3 separate regions of the Homo sapiens genome follow, and regions 2 and 3 are each linked to region 1. The links are contacts of gene promoters, found by promoter capture Hi-C in blood cells and fetal thymus (Javierre and others, 2016). All regions are on one chromosome and are shown on one strand. The core of a region is centred on a gene start or on the middle of the fragment in contact, and the rest is flanking DNA. Distances in the headings are between cores, read along the strand shown. Region 1 holds the start of FAM171A1 (family with sequence similarity 171 member A1). Region 2 overlaps NMT2 (N-myristoyltransferase 2). Region 3 overlaps FAM171A1 (family with sequence similarity 171 member A1).

Region 1 (3,003 bases), core at 315-2,814:
GGCGTCTCTGCTCCCAGGCACCCTGAGCATGTTAGCCGAGGAAAGGGGGTTCCAGCAAGGAGACCCTCGGATGCAGCACTCCTCGTTTCTTTGGCCTGCAGGGCCAACTTTGCAGGACACACACCCTTCTGAGGGGACAGGCCTCGGGCTCGGAATCCCGGGGTTCTGCAGGGCTGCAGGGAGCTCCCTCGCAGAGACCTGAGCCCCCGGCAAGAGTCCAGGCAGCGGTGCCCTGGGTGAATGCAGAGGCTCATCTGCGGGCCTCAGTGGCCCTTTTGAAAACGCCAGCAACAGAGGAGTCCTCGACGCTGTCCCCACAAAAATGTGCCAAGCAAGCCTCAGGGTGGGTGTGGGGGACTCCCCTCAAAAAACGCTGATTTTAAAAACAAAAGACAGGCTCGTGGCCATTCTCAGAGGCGACCACGTTACTCCCAGGGCTGGAAAGCAGATTTGTGGAGGCCAAAGACGAGACAAAAGGCACGAGCTGGCGACAAACTGATCTGGAAAGGATTTTTCTTTTTTTTTTTTTTTTTTTTGGTGAGCGATGAGGGCCTCCCAGTTCAATTCTTTCTTCCCTTACAGAGAAGACTCATGGGCCGCTGAGCAAATCCCTTATGGTCTGGAAGAGACGTCAGATAGGCAGGGGGAGAGAACCCCCCAAACTTTCCCAAACTGCGGCAGGCTAGTGGCTAGTGGCGGCAGCGGACCTCGGGGCCCCGGGACACAGGGGGCACCCCGGGGCGTCAGCCACCCCCTCCCGCCACAACAAAAGGCCCCAGCGCAGCCCAGGAGCTGGGACTTCCCAGACCCGAGCCCGGCGTGGGGAGCCGGGAGCGCGATCGGGCGGCGCGCCCTGGGCGGCCCCTCTGTCCGCGGCGACATGGGAGACAGAGCCGCGTGTCCGAGGCGCGGCATAAAGGGGACCCCCGGGCGCATCCAGACGAGCCCCCGCCGCAGCGGCGACAGCAGCTGGAGCTGCCCGCGCCCCCGCCCGACCCAGCCCCCGATCCCCGGCCCCCGAAGCCTCCGCCCGGGTCACCCCGCGTCGCCGGCCCGCGCCGCCCCCTCGGGAGCGCGTTGCGGGTGCTGCAGGCCCGGAGGCTCCCGATGCGGCTCGGGCTGCGTCGCCACCACGCGGCCCGGGACCCTCCCGCCGCCGCCGCCGCCGCCGCCGCCTCCGCGCCAGGCCCGGCGCGACACAAAGCCCCCGGCCCCGCCGCCGCCCACTGACCTTGGGCTCCGGCGCCGGGCTCCCGCAGCGTCTTGGTCACCGCCTTCCAGACGTGGCAGCCCAGCAGGCACAGCAGCAGCGTCGCGGACCTGCTCATCTCCGCCGCGGGGCCGGCGGCGGCTCGGGCTCGCCGAGAGCGGGCCGGGCGGCGGCGCGTCACGGGCGGCCGGGCGCCGCGCCCCCCTCCATGTCGCTGGCTCCGCGCGCCGGGCCCGCCGCCCGATTGGCCCGGCCCCGCCGCCCCGGCCGCTCCCTCCCGCGCCCCGCGCCGGGTTTCCCCGAAGAGCCGCGGCGGCGGCGGCGGCGGCGGCTGCTGCTGCTCCGCCAGCTCCTTAACCCCTTCCTGCCTCGCCCGCCGCCGCCGCCGCTGCCCGCGCCCAGGCCCCGGGCCCGTGGTGCCACCTGGCGGCTGCGGCGCCGAGGGCGCCCCCGCCCGGCGCCGCTGCGTCGCGCCCCCAGCCCGACCCCCGGCGACACTGCCCCGGCGCGCCCCATCCCCGCAGCCCCGCAGAAGAGCCAGACCTGCCTTTCAGGGCGGAGCCCTTTTCATCACACCAGGTCACCCAAGGGGCCGCAGGAGACATTGTATCTGGGTGTGACCCCCCCACCAGGTGCCATCCTAATGTAGTTGTGTCCCCCAACGTAGATTTCACACCCAGTGTTAAAGATCCGCAAAAACACTCCCCAAGCCAGTATAGACTGCAGTAGGCCTGCAGTACCTACGTGTTGGCGGGTGGACAGCTTCAGGAGGAATGGTACTTGGATGGTTCTAGGGGTTAGGGTGGGGAGGAAATCCACATCTTTTGAGGCCCTAGGTGCTTTAAAACTTTCTGTCCTATTAAAGAAAAAAGACTATTCCATGACACGTGTGAAAGCACAGCAAAGAAGACCCTCTTTGGAACCATCGCAATAGGTATAAGCCCTACCATGGGATTCTGCAGTCGGGGAGAAAGGTTGGGTTCAACTCTGAATACAGCAGGAACAAGTGGGGATTTATAACCGAGGACCAGGGTGGGATGCAGGGAATGAAAAATTATAAGAGGAAACATCAGGGGGAAGGGGGATTCTTGAAAGTCAGACATCCCCTGGCAGGGCTGGGCAGGACAGGGCGGATGGGGAAGCTGATCAGATATCCAGGGTGGAGGGTTCTTGGTAAACTGACTTAGCAGGGTTCTTCCTGAAAGCAGATTTTACAAGGAAGGGCACAACTGAGCCTAGAAGAAGGTTCCGGAGCCTGACTGTAGTTCGGTCAAGCAGAGACTCTTTGTCCATCTTCACAATACATGATCTAAGAGGTAGTTAGCATTATCCCCCCCATTCACAGATGAGAAAAGAGGCTAAAGAGGGTTAAGGAATTTGTCCAAAAGTGCATACCTGGTCAGTGGCAGAGCCAAAATTCTAATAAAACAGTCAGTCTGACCCCAAAATTGAAACTCTTCACAAAAACCTCCAGACTTGGCTGGGTGTGATGGTTCATGCCTATAATCCCAACACTTTGGGAGGCTGAGGTAGGTGGATGGCCTGAGTTCAGGAGTTAAGAGACCAGCTGGGCCAACATGGTGAAACCCTGTCTCTACCAAAAATACAAAAAAATTAACCAGGCATAGTGGCCCATGCCTGTGGTCCCAACTACTCAGGAGGCTGAGGTGGGAGGATCGCTTGAACCTGGGAGTGGGGAGGTTGCAGTGAGCCAAGATCGTGCCACTGCACTCCAGCCTGGATGACAGACTGAGACCCCGTCTCAAAAAAAAAAAAAAAAAAAAATCAAAAAA
Region 2 (3,003 bases), core at 222-2,721, 240 kb before region 1:
AAACAACTTTTTGAAAACTAGCTTAAATTTCTTCAGTGATTCCAGGCTCTGGGATAAGTGATTTATATTAAAATATACCCCTGAAGTCTAGTATTCCATTTACTTAACGAATGTAATAATTTAACAGGATATAGTAATTTTAAGTTTCATCCTATTTGAGTCAATAAAAACAGTGGTGAGGGGTGGGGAGATAAACTCTGATGTTTTAGAAACAGGTTAGTCTTGTGGGAATCTGATCATTTTCTCACTGGAATAACCTGTGAAAGCTTGACTAGTGCAGACGAAGTTGTAAAAACATAGCTTAGGTCTTCCTACTCTGAACAAACAAATACATCTGAGGCTTTTGAATGGATGCTTATTAGACTTTCAGGACACTTTGGTGGTGCTGCAAAGCATGGCAGAAAACTGATCTTTGGGGTGGAAAGAAAATGGTATGACATTGGAATTTTAAGATCATCATGTCCTAGGTTTTCCCATGTAGAGACAGCATTCATCTTTCACATGGAATAGACTTAGAAGTATAGATCCACACGAGGTCAGGAGTTCAAGACCAGCCTGACCAACATGGTGAAACCCTGTCTCTACTAAAAATACAAAAATTAGCTGTGTGTGGTGGCACATGCCTGTAATCCCAGCTACTCGGGAAGCTGAGGCAGGAGAATCACTTGAACCCAGGAGGCGAGTTTGCGGTGAGCCAATATCACGCCACTGCATTCCAGCCTGGGCAACAGAGTAAGAGTCTGCCTCAAAAAAAAAAAAAAAAAAAAAAGTATAGATCCAGCATCATTAGTAGGAAAATGTCAAAAACTTTTTTTTAATCACCAAGTGGCAAATGATATACCAGAAAGAATACTGGACTTGGTGATTCTAGGTTCTAGTCTCCATCTCTGCTACCAGCAAAAACTACATCTAGCAGAACAGTGGTGAGGCTCAACATTTTTGATAAAGGGAGGACCTGAGGTAGAAATATGGTACTGGTACCTGCATGTGGCTATGGGCTTAGGAAGAACCACTCCCGCGGTGTACACAGCCTGGAAGATCCCTTCCAGGTTCACTCTTCTAGTGATCTCTCGGATTAGCACTGGGGCTACCCGTTTCGATCTCAACTTCTTATGAACACAAAGAAAGTTGATTTCTACCATCTTCTTCACACTAAGAAATAAAGATGGTGAAGATTAAGAGTCAAAACGAGATTCAAAATGAAGAGTCAACACATTTTAAAAAATAAGATGATACCCAGGAAATATCCAAGAATAAGAATGCAGGCTGGGAACACTGGCTGTCGCCTGTAATCTCAGCACTTTGGGAGGCCAAGGCAGGTGGATTGCTTGAGACCAGGAGTTCCAGACCAGCCTGGGCAACACTGAGACTCTCATCTCTACAAAAAACAAACACCAGCCAGTCATGTTGCCGCATGCATGTGGTCCCAGCTACTTGGGAGGCTGAGGTGGAAGGATCACTTGAGCCTGAGAGGCAGAGGGTGCAGTGAGCCATGATTGCATCACTGCCCTCCAGCCTGGACAACAGAGCAAGGCCCTGTCTCAAAAAAAAAAAAAAAAAAAAAAAAGAAAAGAAAGAAAAAGAAAAAAAAGAACATAAAGGCCATTCTATTTTCTTCTTTCTTTCTTTTTTTTTTTTTTTTTTTTTGAGACAGATTGTCGCACTGTCACCCAGGCTGGAGTGCAATGGCGCAATCTTGGCTCACTGTAACCTCTTACTCCTGGGTTCAAACGATTCTCCTGCGTCAGCCTCCTAAGTAGCTGGAATTACAGGTGCACGCCACCATGCCCAGCTCATTTTTGTATTTTTAGTAAAGACAGGGTTTCACCATGTTGGCTACGCTGGTCTCGCATTCCTGACCTCATGATCTACCTGCCTCGATCTCCCAAAGTGCTGGGATTATAGGCGTGAACCACCCACCGCACCTGGCCTGAAAGCCATTCTTTAACACAATATTTAACAAAAATATTCTATCACTTAGACATTTCACAAATTCAGACGGAAACACTATTCCCCATATCTCCCTGCCAAAATGATTGTAAAACGCACGGAGGCTCCAACCCTCTTGTTCTAAATACATTTTGGGACTTTGGTCCATTATACGTTTTCAGTTTAGAAAATGGATCAGCTATGGCTCTTTACGTTTCTTTCCTTTTTTTTTTTTTTCCTTTTTTGAGATGAGGTCTCGCTATGTTGACCAGGCTGGTCTCGACCTCCTGGCCTCAAGCAATCCTCCCATCTCAGCCTCCCAGTGCTAGGATTACAAGCATGAATCACTACGACCTGCCCGTCTTTAAGTTTCTAGATCTGTTTTTCCTAAATTATGGTAATAACTGAGTCATCCTGGTGCAGAATCTGATAAGATGTTGCTTTGGAGTGTGATACAAACCCCTGGGACCCCTGAGAGGGGCTTTGAGCAGACCAGAGCTGGTGCGCTCTGAACTACAGTAAACCTCCTAGATCTTCAAATCCTGTTCCTGGTTCTGTTTCCAGGTACACACTTCATTTGGCACAAAATATTCCTTGAGATCAAATGCTTTTCACAGTAAATAAGCTAACCTAATACACTGACAAGTAAAGAGACCAATTATATATGACATCTTTGACTTTCATAGCTGGATCTTTGACTTTCCGGGCTGGAGATCCAAACTAAAAGTGCAATGTATCCTATGGAGAGAAAGCTTTATCTCTCCTAAAAAATTTTTAAGTAATTTTTTTTTTTTGAGATGAAGTCTTGCTCTGTCACCCATGCTGGAGTGCAGTGGTATAATCTTGGCTCACTGCAATCTCTTCCTCCTGGGTTCAAGTGATTCTCGTGCCTCAGCCTCCCAAATAGCTAGGATTACAGGCACGTGCCACTATGCTGGCTAATTTTTGTATTTTTAGTAGAGATGGGGTTTCGCCATGTTGGCCAGGCTGGTCTCGAACTCCTGACCTCAAGTGATCTGCCAGCCTCGGCCCCGACCAAAGTCCTGGAATTACAGGTGTGAGCCACTGTGCCTG
Region 3 (3,003 bases), core at 336-2,835, 150 kb before region 1:
ACTCCCGCTCCAGGCTTGGCACCCGTTCAGCTCATGACTTACACGTCGTATCCCCTCCCCAAAGCTGGCCCACTACAGTGATGCTCTCAGCCTCTCTGCATCAGCCAGGAAAGGGCTGTGCATTCTTTGGTTTGCTGTTTTCCCCACATTAGATTGTTGAGTCACTGCTTGTCAAACAGCAGATTCTGGGTTAGGCTAAACGGGACCCAGAGGGTGAGAGCTGGAAGCAGAGTAAGTCCTGCTCATTCATGAATGCACACCTGCCTTTCTCCTGCCTTTCTCCCTAAGTTGCCTTTCCCTTCTAAAACACACGATAACCAATTGAAACAGACTTTAAAAAATAGCTCCACATTGGCTGGGGGTGGTGGCTCATGCCTGTAATCCCAGCACTTTGGGAGGCTGAGGCTGGTGGATCACTTGAGGTCAGGAGTTTGAGACCAGTCTGAGCAACACAGCAAAACCCCGTCTCTACTAAAACTATGAAAATTAGCTGGGTGTGGTGGCTCCCATCTGTAATTCCAGCAACTGGGGTGGCTGAGGCAGGAGAATCACTTGAACCTGTGAGGCGGAGGTTGCGGTGAGCTGAGATTGAGCCACTGCACTCCAGCCTGGGCGACAGAGCAAGATTCTATCTCAATTAAAAATAAAACAAAACAAAACAAAAAAAACCCCTCCACATTACATTTGGGACAAGCCTAGTGGGTGACCACATATATAGACCCCACCAGACTAATGAGTCCCCAAGTTCACTCTGGAGGGCCTGCAGTCCAGCAGTGGTGCTGGTGGAGGCCAGAAAGTCCATTGGCTGAAGAAGACATAGCTGCTTGGAGGGTCAGCTAGGAAACACCCACCTGGGGTGGGTGTAGAAGGATTGGGATGAGTTTAGTTTTGATGAACAGGCAGGGGTTGTCAGTGATGGGGAGAGATGGGGCAGGGCGGGAGCCAGGAGAAAGAGAAGGAGGACATTCTACCCAGGGATCAGTGTGTACAAAGGCCTGGTGTGGTGGGCCTGGATGACATGTGAAGATGGAAGTGGGGATGGGAGCACAGAGGCCCCGGGTGAACAGGACGGAGCAGCTGTGCCCGGGCTGGAAAGGAGTTAGGCATCCTTCTGGGACGATCTTCACACCCCATTTGCTGCAGGAGGACATGGGGGACCTGGAAACGGAGGCACACATGGTTGGAGCTTCTCCCACTTCCTTCCTCTCTTCTACCCCTGATAGGGTTTGGCTATGTCCCCACCCAGATCTCATCTTGAATTGTAGCTCCCACAATTCCTGTGTGTTGTGGGAGGCACCTGGTGGGAGATAACTGAATCATGGCGGCAGGTCTTTCCTGTGCTGTTCTTGTGATAGTGAATAAGTCTCAGGAGATCTAATGGTTTTATAAGGGGGAGTTTCCCTTTACAAGTTTTCTCTCTTGCCTGCCACCATGTAAGATGTGCCTTTTGCCTTCTGCCATGATTGTGAGGCCTCCCCAGCCATGTGGAACTGTGAGTCTATTAAACCTCTTTTTCTTTATAAATTTCCCAGTCTCAGGTATGTCTTTATCAGCAGCGTGAAAACAGACTAATACAGTCCCCAACCCCCTCTTTAGTTCCTGCCAGGCAGTCTTCACAATGCACACCTCTACCCATTCTGTGACTTTGCCTGCAAATGTAGCTCCAACCTCATATAGTTTTTCTCTCTTCCAAAAATCTACCCAGTCTTTCAAGATTCAAATCAAGCCCAGTGTTTTTCCAGAGGCCTTTCTAGGACACATGGGTCTTCCGTGTCTTGGCACATCCTGGGCAAGTGTTACTGCATCACCCATTTGCCAAAAACACACGTTGCCTTCCGTGGCTAGCCTGTGGCCCTCAGTCTTATCTCCTTTCTTAGATCGTAAACTCCATGGGTGTGGCCTGTGTCTTGCGTTCCTTTTGTTTTCTTCTCAGCACCTAGAGATATGCATAGAGTAGGAACTCCAGAGACCTTCAGAATGAGTGGAAGCTACAGGTGCAATCAAAAAATAATATCTGGTAACCTGTGAAAGGCTGGGTGCAGTAGGCAGGGAAGGATATCCCCATGGCAGTCTGATCATGCCTGGGATGCTGCCCTTTCAAACTAAAGGGAACAGAACCAGCTGGGGAAGAGCCTACTATGGCTAAAGCGTGACACTCTTTGGGGATTCAACAATCATGCTGTTACTGGCAAAAGCATTTCATGCTTTCCGTGTTTTGTGGGAGGAAATAAGCTCCAGGGAGTATGGGAATTAGCAAATTGTGTACTAGAAACACATGCTTCTCATGGCGGAATCCTGATGCCACTGTGGGATGCAGACAGTTTCACCACCGGAGCAGCGGGCACCAGGGCCAGGATTCTTTACTGGTGGTACCGGATGGCAGAGCACACAGGCCTCTGCAAAGTCTCTTCTGCTGAATATGGGACCGCTGGGTGTTGCAACCAGGAAGGGCGCCCTTTCATCATGCGGTGAGAGCCTCGGGCACTGCTGAGACAGAGCAAGGGAGGAACCAGGTTGTTCCTGCTGCACGAACCAAAGAAAGCTCCACTGCAAGGCCTCTCAAGTCGGCCCACCTGCCCCTAAGCATGGAGGCCTTGGGATGCTCCTGGGTGAGGACATCTGCCCAGAGGGCTCTCCTTCTTAAGCCTGTCTCCTTGGGGTCTGACAGACAACAGTCCCTAATGTGACAGCAGCCCAGCTGGGCTACCTGCTCAAGCCCCCTTCACCCTGAGCTTCTCTTTCTGCCCTTCCCAGCCTCTTCCAGGGGCTTACCACTGCCTCTTAGTGTCCTCTGCACAAGCAAGCAGCTGAGGTGGCCGCTGGGACTTGCAGACTCAAGGCAAGGTCATGTGGTGAAGGCAAGCAGGACCCTACAGCCTCCTCCTGCCTCACCCCAGAAACCCAGGCTTCTTCCTGCAGAAGCCGCACCACTGCAGCTGCGCCAACCTGGTCGTGCAGCCGGCATTTTAGGAGGTGGCTGGACAATGACATGTGCCTCTCTGT

Evidence for each region. The method cuts DNA at HindIII sites, captures the fragments that hold promoters and counts their contacts. A CHiCAGO score of 5 or more calls a contact.
Region 2: a contact is called between a fragment that was not itself captured here and the fragment with the promoter of FAM171A1 in region 1, in 3 of 17 cell types (endothelial precursors, non-activated CD4 T cells and naive CD4 T cells). The highest score is 7.0, in endothelial precursors.
Region 3: a contact is called between a fragment that was not itself captured here and the fragment with the promoter of FAM171A1 in region 1, in 3 of 17 cell types (endothelial precursors, megakaryocytes and erythroblasts). The highest score is 9.0, in endothelial precursors.

What each region holds. Positions count from the first base shown.
Region 1 is chr10:15,369,725-15,372,727 of GRCh38, forward strand. FAM171A1 (family with sequence similarity 171 member A1) reads right to left here and starts at 1,565. Exons shown (of 8, transcript NM_001010924.2): 1 at 1,232-1,565. The coding sequence starts at 1,328. RefSeq lists silencers at 1,322-1,551, 1,562-1,611. The HindIII fragment of the contact is 10,313 bases long and covers 1-3,003 here.
Region 2 is chr10:15,129,161-15,132,163 of GRCh38, forward strand. NMT2 (N-myristoyltransferase 2) reads right to left here. Exons shown (of 12, transcript NM_004808.3): 7 at 982-1,152. Among named protein-coding and RNA genes, the nearest start is that of RPP38, 33 kb to the left of the region's middle. The HindIII fragment of the contact is 2,415 bases long and covers 265-2,679 here.
Region 3 is chr10:15,223,264-15,226,266 of GRCh38, forward strand. All of the region lies in intron 5 of FAM171A1 (family with sequence similarity 171 member A1), which reads right to left. The region is part of intron 1 of FAM171A1-AS1 (FAM171A1 antisense RNA 1); the gene reads left to right. Among named protein-coding and RNA genes, the nearest start is that of FAM171A1-AS1, 16 kb to the left of the region's middle. The HindIII fragment of the contact is 3,247 bases long and covers 1-3,003 here.